Regions from separate parts of the Homo sapiens genome. Here region 1 is linked to region 2. The links are contacts of gene promoters, found by promoter capture Hi-C in blood cells and fetal thymus (Javierre and others, 2016). All regions are on one chromosome and are shown on one strand. The core of a region is centred on a gene start or on the middle of the fragment in contact, and the rest is flanking DNA. Distances in the headings are between cores, read along the strand shown. Region 1 holds the start of TMEM50B (transmembrane protein 50B). Region 2 holds the start of CFAP298 (cilia and flagella associated protein 298).

The links. Contacts are between HindIII fragments. The CHiCAGO score rates a contact against its expected background, and 5 or more counts as called.
Region 1: the fragment with the promoter of TMEM50B here is called in contact with the fragment with the promoter of CFAP298 in region 2 in 2 of 17 cell types (naive CD8 T cells and fetal thymus); the score reaches 6.3 in naive CD8 T cells.

Annotation. Positions count from the first base shown.
Region 1 is chr21:33,475,360-33,481,474 of GRCh38, forward strand. TMEM50B (transmembrane protein 50B) reads right to left here and starts at 4,615. Exons shown (of 7, transcript NM_006134.7): 1 at 4,479-4,615. The HindIII fragment of the contact is 5,416 bases long and covers 1,538-6,115 here.
Region 2 is chr21:32,609,771-32,616,248 of GRCh38, forward strand. It overlaps CFAP298 (cilia and flagella associated protein 298), which reads right to left and starts at 2,607. Exons shown (of 7, transcript NM_021254.4): 1 at 2,335-2,607; 2 at 68-235. The coding sequence starts at 2,473. CFAP298-TCP10L (CFAP298-TCP10L readthrough) reads right to left here and starts at 2,607. Exons shown (of 12, transcript NR_146639.2): 1 at 2,335-2,607; 2 at 68-235. RefSeq lists enhancers at 2,029-2,078, 2,739-2,848. The HindIII fragment of the contact is 6,059 bases long and covers 1-5,663 here.

The DNA of each region.
Region 1 (6,115 bases), core at 3,365-5,864, 870 kb after region 2:
TTTTGGGAGATGGAGTCTCGCTCTGTCGCCCAGGCTGGAGTGCAGTGGCACGATCTTGGCTCACTGTAACTCCCGCCTCCTGGATTCAAGCAGTTATCTGCCCCCACCTCCCAAGTAGCTGGGATTACAGGGGCCCATCACCAGGCCCGGCTACTTTTTTGTATTTTTAGTAGAGACAGGGTTTCACCATCTTGGCCAGGCTGGTCTTGAACTCCTGACCTCGTGATCCACCCGCCTTGGCCTCCCAAAGTGCTGGGAATACAGGCGTGAGCCACCGCGCCCAGGAAGAAATTACTTTTAAAAAAGAACAAGCAGCTGGGTGCGGTGGCTTACTCCTGTAATCCCAGCACTTTGGGAGGCCAAGGTGGGCAGATCATGAGGTCAGGAGAACAAGACAATCCTGGCTAACACGTTGAAACCCCATCTCTAATAAAAATACAAAAAATCAGCTGGGCGTGGTGGCACGCACCTGTAGTCCCAGCTACTCGGGAGGCTGAGGCAGGAGAATCACTTAAACCCAGGAGGTGGAGGTTGCAGTGAGCCAAGATCTCACCACTGCACTCCGGCCTGGGCAGCAGAGCCCCCTCTAATCTGAAGGACCTCTCTTATCACTTCTGCCAACCCAATTAAATGAGGCAATATAACCTTAAGGTCAACACCACTTCGTGGTAAGAAGAGTAATAAATCCTCTATTATTTAATACAGTCTTCAAAATTTTCTGTTCCAGCCTCTAAATATAAAAGAATATATAGAGCCAGGCACAGTGGCTCATGCCTGTAAACCCAAGACTTTGGGAGGCCTAGGTGGGTGGATCCCCTGAGATCGGGAGTTCAAGACCAGCCTGACAAAAGCCCGTCTCTACTAAGAATACAAAATTAGCCGAGGTGGTGGCGCATGTCTGTAATCCCAGCTACTCAGGAGGCTGAGGCAGGAGAATTGCTTGAACCTGGGAGATGGAGGTTGCAGTGAGCCAAGATCACGCCATTGCACTCCAGCTTGGGCAACAAGAGCAAAACTCCGTCTCAAAAAATAATAAAAGAATATATGGAATCTTAGAAATGCATTTAATTCAAATAGATTTAGCTACTGCTTTTAAATTATAAAATCTTTTAAGTTATAACATCAGGCGTGGTGGCTCACACCTGTAATCCCTGCACTTTGGGAAGCCGAGGCCAGCGGATCACGAGGTCAGGAGATTGAGACCATCCTGGCTAAAACGATGAAACCCCGTCTCTACTAAAAACACAAAAAATTAGCTGGGCGTGGTGGAGGGTGCCTGTAGTCCCAGCTTCTCGGGAGGCTGAGGCAGGAGAATGGTGTGAACCCGGGAGGTGGAGCTTGCAGTGAGCCGAGATCGCACCACTGCACTCCAGCCTGGGCGACAGAGTGAGACTCCATCTCAAAAAAAAAAAAAAAAAAACAACTTTAAGTTTAAAAAGATTCCTTGTGAAATAAAATTATATCAAAGTACAATCATCTGTTTATATTATCTACTTGAAACTTACCCTAGAACGACAAAAAGATTTTCATAAAGCAAAGCTTTTAATGGCTAAAACCCAGAAACAGTCAAAATGTCCATCAATAAGGAACCAAAAAATGTATATTAGGGTACATCCAAACAACGGTATACCATGCAACATTCTGAAAATGAGGCAAGTTGGCTGGGCAGGATGGCTCACACCTGTAATCCCAGCACTTTGAGAGGCTGAGGCAGGTGGATGGCTTGAGTTCAGGAATTCAAGACCAGCCTGGGCAATATGAGAAACCCGTCTCTACAAAAATTACAAAAATTAGGCATGGTGGCACTCGCCTATAGTCTCAGCTTCTCAGGAGGCTGAGGTGGGAGGATCGTTTGAGCCCAAGGCTGCAGCAAGCCGTGAGGGAACCACTGCACTCCAGCCTGGGCAACACAGTGAGACCCGGTCTCCAAAGTGAGGGGTGGGGTTGGGAGGAAATGAGGTAGGTCTCCACGTGCTTATGAAGGAAATGTGTCCTTATATTATCATCAGTTGCCGAGCAATATTATAATATAATACCCTCCTAGGGAATGGAATTGAGGATGTAAAGAGTGAACAAACAAGGAATTCTAACTTGACATACCTCTGCGCTGTCTGAATTTTACTTGATATTCTTCTGTCATGTTTAAATGTTTTAAACAACCTGAATGTTACTTTAATCATTTAAAAAGTAAAACGGGCTAGGTACGGTGGCTCACGTCTGTAATCCCAGCACTTTGGGAGGCCGAGGCGGGGGGGGGTTACCTGAGGTCAGGAGTTCGAGTCTCTACTAAAAATACAAAAATTAGCTGGGCGTGGCGGCGGGCGCCTGTAATCCCAGTTTACTTGGGAGGCTGAGACAGGAGAATCGTTTAAACCTGGGAGGCGGAGGTTGCAGTGAGCCACGATAGCGCCATTGCACTCCAGCCTGGGCAACAAGAGCAAAACTCGGCCTCAAAAATTATATATATATATACATAAGTTAAAAATAAACTTTAGGCCGGGCACAGTGGCTCACGCCTGTAATCCCAGCACTTTGGGAGGCTGAGGCAGGTGGATCACGAGGTCAGGAGATCGAGACCATCCTGGCTAACACGGTGAAAACCCGTCTTTACTAAAAATACAAAAAATTAGCCGGGCGTGGTGGTGGGCGCCTGTAGTCCCAACTACTAGGGAGGCTGAGGCAGGAGAATGGCGTGAACCCAGGACGTGGAGCTTGCAGTGAGCCGAGATCTTGCCACTGCACTCCAGCCTGGGAGACAGAGCAAGACTCTGTCTCAAAAAATAAATAAATAAATAAATTTAAAAATAATAATAATACACTTTAAAAGGCCAGGCGCGGTGCCCACACCTGTAATCCCAGTACTTTCAGAGACCGAGGCAAGCGGATCACTTGAGGTCAGGAGTTCAAGACCAGCCTGGCCAACATGGTGAAACTCTCTCTCTACTAAGAATATAAAAATTAGCCAGGCATGGTGGCAGGCGCCTGTGATCCCAGCTACTCGGGAGGCTGAGGCTGTAAAATCCCTTTAACCCTAGAGGTGCAGGCTGCAGTGAGCAGAGATCGGGCCACTGTACTTGTAGCCTGGTCAACGAGGGAGACTCTGTCTCAAAAAAAACAGAAAAGGAAAATGAGGATAAAATACGATAAATTCTTTACCTTGGCCCCCAGAAGTGAATTCAGAATTCAGAAAAGACTAGCCAGTGTAAGGCTGCTGTAACCCTAGTTGACAGAGAGGAGGGATTGGGGTGGTGAGTGGGAAGGCTGTGTCTCCGGAAGAAGAAATATACGTCCCCACCTCACTCTAATTAAACCTGCTTTTCCAGCGCGATAAATATTCAAGATAACTTTTGGTTTGCATTTCAATAACAAAGTCTTGCACCACTATCTTCAGTTTAAAAAAAAAGTTTAATGTTTGCTCTACGTTTGAAATGCATGCAGGTTTAAAAGACAAGAAACAAAATGATGAAAAAGTGTGACCGGCCTGAGAGTTCAGAGCCTCTGAAGTGTCAAGGGATCCACAGTGCAGGTAGGATGAAGAGTCTGAGAAGGGAGATGGGATCCTCCGAAAAGAGAAAATCGGGTCTTACAGCGCGATGTAAGACGATGCGGATGCCACTTCCCTCCCACCCCGTCCCGTCCGAGGCCTCCGCCCCCTGCCCCTCCGCACCCCCCGACCCAGGCACGCGCAGCGGGGAGCAGCCCAGCCTAGCCCGTCTCACTGCTTTGGTTTTGAAAGGTCACGTATTTACCTTAGAATTTCAGCACCTTCCAACTTACTGTTTTAAGTACCTTTAACCAGCCTATTGGCTAAAAACCGAAACGGTCCTACCCGCGACTACCACTGCTCCAGTGACAATGCTCTGCTGCTACTTATTTAACGGAGCTCAAGGTTTATAATTCTCGAAAGAATGTTGTTCCCCTTCCCTTTCCCCTCCCGCCTCTGTACTTGACTCTCGTAAGAATGAAATCAGAAAAGTGCAGAAAACACAGGCTCCTAGCAATGGTTCGGGGCAAACGGGAGGGGCGAAGAAGGGCTGGAGCCGCCCCGGGGCCCTCGCTCCGGCCTCGGGAGGGCGTCGCGGCCGCAGCAGGGCGTCCCGAAAACCGTCGCCTCCGTGCCCGCCGCGCGAGAAGGTGAAAGGCACGAGATGGAGCCTCTCCAGCCCTCCCCAGGAACGCAACCTGACGGCGTGACAGCGCGGCAGGGCAGCCTCCCCGGGCTGCTTGCGGGTCGCGGCGGCGCCACGGTCACGGTCGGCCCGAAGGGACGCGGGCAGGGGCAAGAAGGGGCGGCGGGGGCTCCGCGGGCCCGAGTCTGCAGGCCGGCGCCGAACGCAGGGAAAACCCGGCTGGACGGCCCCACAGCCCCCAGAAGGCCGGGCCGGACAGGGCCCGACGAGGGAGCCTCCTTACGCGCGGGCGGCGGGCGCGAGCCCTCTACGGTTGCCTGGCGCCGGAGACCCACAGACAGGACTCACCCAGCTTCCTCAAACGCCCACGCCGACTTCAGGCGCGCGCGCAGGAAGGAGACTGCTGCGCCACAACCCTGCCGGCGTCCCGCGGCTCCACCTCAGCCCCGGGAGCCCGGAGCTGGGAGCAGACGCGAGGATAGAGCGCCGGTGAGGCGGGGCGAGGCGCCGTGTGCACCGCAGCGACCAATCGGAGCGCAGCAAGTGGCCGGCCGGGGGCGGGGCGGGACGCGAGGGGGCGGGGAGAGGGCGTTGGCTGGGCGCAGCGGGACGCCGGGCGCTCCTCGCGACCAATCGGCGTGCAGCAAGTGGCCGGCCGGGGGCAGGGCGAGCTCCGAGGGACGGGGTGGGCTGCTCTGCAGGCCTCCCGGAGCCGGAGTTCAGACCCAGCTATCTACGGTTCCGGGCAGAGCGGGACGGGCCTCTCCTGTCCCCTGCCGGTGGGCGGCCGCCGCCGGGCTCCCACTGCTGCGTTTCTGCACGCTGACTTGAAGTGCAGTACCGTGAGATTACGTGCGGACGGAGCTCGAGACCCGGGGGACCAGGGTTTCCCTTCGCCTATGGCCGATCAGTCTTGTCTGTCTGCGAGCTGCCCAGAGTAGGGAAGGTGCTCCGGGAGGGTTCTCGGGAACGGAGGGTCTTTAGAGATGCCTTTTTCTAATCCCCTCAATTCAGAAATGGAGCCCCAGAAAGTTGAAGTTAGTAAACCAGGGCTACCCAGCGAGTGCTGGTTACCCGAGGTGATCCTCACAATACAACTAGTCTTCTGATTTCGCTCGGCGCTCTCCCGTCTATTCACGTAGATTTTTGTCTTTTTTTTTTTTTTTCGTCTTTCTTATAGTCAGATATCTTTCAGCCTCTTGGATTTTCAACATAACTTTAACAGCGTTTGGAAGCCCCGTCTAAATTTCCTACAGAAATGCCTATAACCATTTAGTTGTTTGGGGGAAAGTCGAGCTTTGTTTTTTGGGTGGTTTGTTTGTTTGTTTTGAGACAGGGTCTTGCTCTGTTGTCCAGGGTGGAGTGCAGTGGTGTGATCTTGGCTCACTGCAGCCTCTTACCTCCCACGCTCAATCAATCCTCCCACCTCAGCCTTCCGAGTAGCTGGGATTACAGGTGCGCACCACCATGCTTGGCTAATTTGTGTATTTTTAGTAGAGACGGGATTTCACCTGGCTGATCCTGAACTCCTGACCTCAGGTGATCCACCCGCCTCTGCCTCCCAAAATGCTGGGATTACAAGCGTGGGCCACTGTGCCCAGCCAAGTAGAGTTATTATCAGTGGAAATCTAAAAAGCATTTTACTTGAGGCATAATGAAGTAAAAGGTTTTGTATCATGGAATTATCACCAAAAATGCCATCCTGGATAATGTTCTCCTATAGCTCTTATACATGGGCTAGGATCTAGGTGTTCAATAAATATGTGCTGAATAATTTACTTTTGAAATATGTCACAATGCTGGCATTCCACCAGAAGAGAGGATACAGAAGGGAACACTCTCCTCTCTTTAAGAACCTTTTGAAAGGGGCGGGGGTTGCATGTACCATTTTTGTTTTCATTCTGCTAGTAAAATAGTCACTTGACTACACCAAATTGCAAAGAAGGCTGGAAAATGGGGTTTCAGTACTAAGGAAGGAAAACTAG
Region 2 (6,478 bases), core at 1,357-3,856:
AAAAAGGAACTGTTTTCATACTTATGCCTGTATCAAGCATGCACATAGAAGAGAAATCCTCACTTACCTTGCCCATTCCTTCGTCCAATATCATCCTTTTTAAACACTGCACCTCCGCTGGGTACGCATTTTTCACCCCATTCATCCTTCAATTTCAATTCTTCAATCTGATCATCGGTCAGTCCTTGCATATTAGGAGGGAGAAATATGCCATGTTCGGCTAATTCTTCCATTTCTTAAAAATAAGTGAAAGACAGTATCACAATCATAACACCTCATACCCCATTGGAATGTAAGCTCCAAAGAGTCAGGGGTCTTGCCCATCTGGCTCACTATTTTATGGAACAAACATTTATATGCCACTTGCTATGTGCCAGACCTGGCCTGGGCCTTTGACACGGGGGCATGGTACTGGTCTTATTCATCCTTGTCTTTTTTTTCTTTGAGACAGGGTCTCCCTCTGTCACCCAGGCAGGAGTGCAGTGGCGCGATCTCAGCTCACTGCAGCGATCTCAGCTCACTGCAGCATTGCCTCCCGGGTTCAAGCGATTCTCACGCCTCAGCCTCCCGAGTAGCTGGGACAACAGGCATGTGTCACCACGTTTTGTATTTTTAGTAGAGACTGGGTTTCACCATGTTGCCCAGGCTAGTCTAGAACTCCTAGGCTCAAGTGATCCGCCCGCCTCAGCCTCTCAAAGTGTCAGGATTACCCGTGTGAGCCACCACGCCCGGCCCCATCCTTGTCTTCTGAAGGCTGAGCACTGGTGCAGAATAAATACATGAATTTTCAGTTCACTAATGTGACTCTTAGCATTCAGCACATTTCCAATTTATAACGTTATAGGAAAAGAAGATGAATTCCTTTTCTCCTCAAATGCTTTAACTTAAAAATAACATTTAATATTGAGTTTGTGTTGGAACCTCAATTAAGAAACTACACATAAGTTTCATGAAAAGAACCATGACCCTCAGGAATTTCTCCACGGTGCAAAACTCACATATTCATATAATGTAATCAATACATTTCATAATAAATCACATATTCATGCAATTTAATAAATCACATAAATGAATATACTATTTATTGCAAATAGTTACGTTTGTATATTCTATATATACACGATAGTTATATAAACAGTAATATCCTAGACCACATCAGGAAGTATCATCCCGTCAAGTTCAAAAACTATGCTGTCTAATGCGGCAGCTACTCGCTCCACTTGGCGATTTAAATTTATTTAAATTAAAATGACCCAGACGCGATGGATCACACTTGTAATCCTAGCACTTTGGGAGGCGGAGGCAGGCGGATCACCTGAGGTCAGGCGTTCGAGACCAGCCTGGCCAACATGATGAAACCCCGTGTCCACTAAAGATACAAATATTAGCTGGGCGTGGTGGTGGGCGCCTGTAATCTCAGATACTTGGGAGGCTGAGGCAGGAGAATAGCTTGAACCCGGGAGGCGAAGGTTGCAGTGAGCAGAGATCGCGCCACTGCACTCCAGCCTGGGCAACAGTAAGACCCTGTCTCTCACACACACACATACCATATATATATATATATATATAATTTATTTATATTTATATATACATATATATAATTTATTTATATTCATATATACTATATATATGGTATTTATTTATATTTATATATATTTAATTAATTAAAATGCAAATGTAAAATTCGGTTGCCTGGCCGCACTAGCCACATTCCAAATGCTCTACGGCCACAAGTGGCCGGCAGCTGCCCAATGGACAGCACAGATGGGGGCCCTTCCACCGCCGGAAAGTTCTGCGGCAAAGCGGGTGCCCTGGAACCTGCGCGGGGTAGGGAGACGGCGCCGCAACGCAACAGGCCGTTTCCAGGGCGGGGAAAGATCACCAAGGCTTCCTCAACTGTAAGGGGCCGTCCCAAAGCCAGGTGGCTCGCTGCTTTACATTGGGCGACTAAAAATAGTAAATTCAGCTTTTAAAAGCCCACCTAGTTCTCATCTCACCCCTCACACGTGATTAATTGCACTAAGTCTGCTGTTCAGCCCGGCCTTTCGGCTCCCTCCTCCCTCCCCAGCCCATTTCCACTTATTCGCAGCACCCCAAATCCTGGCTCCGAGAGGCACCTGGGCCCACCTCCCAGCCCGGGGTGTCAGACAGGCCGGATCTTCTCCGGTTCCTTATTCATCTCCGGTTAACCCTAGTGTCCCGTTTCAACCCCGGCTGCTGCAAATCTCTTCAATAATCTTCACAAACCTGACCCCTCGGCCCACCCTGCCCCTCTTTCTCCATCCCACGCCGGTCTCTCGATCTGTCCGGGATGGGCCCACCCGCGAGCCGCACCTGAGCAGAGGCGCTGCACCTTGAGCCGCCCATTATAGACCCGGGCCACCTGCACCGTGAGCTCCTCCAGCTCGGTACTCCCAGGCGCCTGCAGCAGGAACTGGCTCTCGTCGCCCCGCTTCACGTGCAGCAGAACCATGGCGGTCCCGCCGAGGTACTGAGGCGTTGAGAAGGCCCCGGCTGCGTGGCCCGCGGGTCCTGCCGGCCGAGGGTCGCCGGATCGCCAGCAGCTGCGACGCACTAACAGCCGCTCACAGTCCGGAATCCCACGCTCCCTAGCCCGCGGTGAGCGGGGGAAACGGCACTCGCTCCCGGAAGTGGATGTTGCCAAGAGCAACAGTGAAGCAGAGTTAAAGAGCCGCCAGCTCAAGCTCAGAACCCGAGTGGGGGAGGCTGGGGTGCACCGAGGCCCAGCAATCCAAGCCCGTACGGAGCTGCGGCCGGGGAAACCACCCACACAGTCTGAGAGGACAGCTGATTCTGAGCGGACCGACGGAAGGAGATTCGCAGAGCCCCTTCCCGGAAGTGACTGTTGTCGCGGCAACTGCCAAAACACAGACCAAGTCGCTGAAGGGGAGGGCGGACCTCCCAATCGACTGGTCTGGGGCCCGAGATTTCCACTCAGGGAGATACGTGGGCTGAGATGGGAGTTACTAGATGGGGAACGGGAAATACGGCGGGAACCACAATCGCGCAGTTCCGCAGCTGCCGCCCCACAACCGCTCCACATTCCAGCGTCCCTTCCGCCGCTTTCAGTCTCCACTTCCGGCAACGTTTCCACGCTGTTTCCGGCCTGGGAAAGTTCGGCGGCAGCGACCCAGAACTGAGTCTTGCTGTTCGCTGCTGTTTGCGCGGGTCAGCTTTTCAGGACGGAGGGGCCAGGGCGAGTGTCCGCACTTCTTCGTTCAGGTTGATTTGGATGGCGTTGCTGGGGTAGCTCCAGCGGCCCCTGCCAGAGCGACCCTCCCAGAAATATCCAGCCATCCTCCAGCGGACTCTTGCTGAAGGCAGTCGGCGTCAGTCGCTGTTTATTCCGGGCCCCACAGATCCAGAGTCACTGCTCTCATGGAGCTTATATTTTAGTGTGACAAAAAGAAAACAAAAATAAATGGACAGGCCAGGAGCGGTGGCTCACGCGTGTAATCCCAACACTTAGGGAGGCCGAGGAGGGCGGATCACCTGAGGTCAGGAGTTCGAAAGCAGCCTGGCCAACATGGTGAAACCCCTTCTCTACTAAAAATACAAAAATTAGCCGAACGTAGTGGCGCGTGCCAGTAATTCCAGCTACTAGGGAGCCTGAGGTGGGAGAATTGCTTGAACCCGGGAGGCGGAGGTTGCAGTGAGCCTAGATCGCGCCACTACCCTCCAGCCTTGGCGACAGAGTGAGACTGTGTCTCAAAAATAATAAATAAACAAACGGACAACACAAATTCAAATACAGATCTAAAGAAAACTAAACAGGTTGATGGACTTCTTATGTTTGATGGTCAGGGAATGTACACCTTCTGCGATATTGGGAGTAATATTATCGTCTCCCGCCCTGAATATTTAGAAAAATATCACAGTGGGGTGTACACCCCTGCGATATTGAGAGTAATGTCATCCTCTCCACCCAGGAAATTACTAACAAGGTCACGGAGGGGTGTACTCCCCCTGTGATATTGGGAGTAATGTTTTCCTCCCCAAACCTGGATGTTAGCAACAAGATAACAGAGGGGGTGTACACACCCTGCGATATTGGAAGTAATATGATCCTCTCCCCCCCGGATACTGGGAAAAATATCACAGCGCGGGTATACATTTCCTTCGCTGTTGGGAGTAATATCATTCTTTTCCTCTCTGGATATCAGGAACAATATCACAGGGGTGGTGTACATTTCCTTCGATATGGGGAGTAATATCATCCTCTCCCCGTTGGGATACTAGGAACAATATCCCAGGGGGGTGTCCACCCTCTGCGATATTGGGAGTAATATCATCCTCTGTTTCCCCGGATATTAGACACAATATCACAAAAAAGTGTACACCCCCTGCGATATTGGGAGTAATATCATACTCTCCTTCCCTGGATATTAGAAAACAATATCATCAGGGGTGAGCACCCCCTGCGATAATGGAAGTAATATTTTCTCTTTTTTTCTTTTCTTTTTTTTTTTTTTTTTTTTTTAACAGAGTTTCACTCTTGCTGCCCAGGCTGGAGTGTAATGGCATGATCTCGGCTCACTGCAGCCTCTGCCTCCCGTATTCAAGCGATTCTCCTGTTTCAGCCTTCCAAGTAGCTGGGATTACAGGCATGCGCTACCATGCCCGGCAATTTTTTTTTTTTTTTTTTTTTTTTGTATTTTTAGTAGAGACAGTGTTTCTCCATATTGGTCAGGCTGGTCTTGAACTCCCGACCTCAGGTGATCCGCCTGATTCAGCCTCCCAAAGTGCTGAGATTACAGGCGTGAGCGATCGCGCCCAGCCACCACTTAGCATTTTCATTTTACATTTGTTGAAGTTACAGATTTATACACACATTGATTGCTGCTTTATTATACACTTGCATATACATAAAATGGGAAATAGAAAAGAATAAAATGGGCACAATATCCCTAAAGTTTCACATTCCGAAACATTTTTTAAATATTTGCTTTTTAGAAATTTGTTTCAATTAAGAAACTGCGGTATACACACACAATGAAGTATTATTCAGCCTAAAAAGGAATAAAATCCTCTCCGCTGCAGAAAAAATGGATGAGATTGCAGGTCTGTATGTTAAGTGAAATAAGCCAGGCACAGAATGACAAATATTACATGTCCTCACTTATACGTAGGAACAAAAAAGAAAATCTTGGCCAGGTGGCTCAGGCCTGTAATCCCAGCACTTTGGGAGGCCGAGTTGCACGGATTACTTGAGGCCAGGAGTTTGAGAGCTGCCTGGCTAACATGGTGAAACCCCGTCTCTACTAAAAACACAAACAATTAGCCAGGCGTGGTGATGCGTGCCTGTAGTCTCAGCTACTCGGAAGGCTGAGGCCCAAGAAGCGCTTGAACTCGGGAGGTGGAGGTTGCAGTGAGCCTGGACTGTGCCTGTATGCTCCAATCTGGGCAATGGAAAGAGACTCCATCACACACCTACAAACAAAAGGAATCTCAGGAAGGTGGAGAGTATAAAGGGGGTTAGCAGACGCTAGGAAGAAAAGGGGTGGATGGGGAATGAGGAGAAGTGGATAATTGGGTCCCAAAATACAGAAAGATGGAGTAAGTGAGTTCTAGTGTTTGATAGTACAGTATGAAAATTTTAGTTCACAAGAATTTCTTGCATATTTCCAGATGCTTTGGTAAGAAGCTTCCTAACTTTCTCATTATGCTGGTTTTTAAGCTCTTGTCTTCTGCTCTTGAAATCATGCTGGTTTTTTGTTTTTTGTTTTGAGATGGAGTTTTGCTCTTCTTGCCCAGACTGGAGTGTAACAGTGCAATCTTGGCTCACCACAACCTCTGCCTCCTGGGTTCAAGTGATTCTCCTGCCTCCACCTCCTGAGTAGCTGGGATTACAGGCATGCGCCAGCATGCCCAGCTAATGTTGTATTTTTAGTAGAGACGGGGGTTTCTCCCTGTCGGTCAGGCTGGTCTTGATCTCCTGACTTCAGGTGATCCGCCCGCCTTGGCCTCCCAAAGTGCTGGGATTACAGGCGTGAGCGACCACGCCCGGCCCATGCTGTATCCTTATCTGTTGTTTGTTGTGGTTTGTTTGTTTTTGAGCCCAGAAATAACTTCTCACCTATGTGTTCAAATGATTTTTAACATGAGTGCTAAGAAAGCTCATTGGTGGAAAAGCAGCCTTTTCAAGAAATGGTGTTGGAGAAACTTGATTTCCACATGCAGAAGAATGAAGGTGGACCCTATGTCACACCAGGTGCAAAAATTAACACAAACTGGATCAAAGACCTAACCCCAAGTGCTAAAAGTATAATATGCCTCAAAGAAAACATTGGCCACACTTTCATGACATCAGATTGGGCAATGCTTTCTGGGATATGACACCAAAAGCATAGGCAACGAAAGAAAATTAGATTCCTTGGATTACATCTAAATGACAGACACTTTTGTGCATCAAAAAACACTGTGAACTGAGTGAAAAGATAACCCATGGATTCGGAAA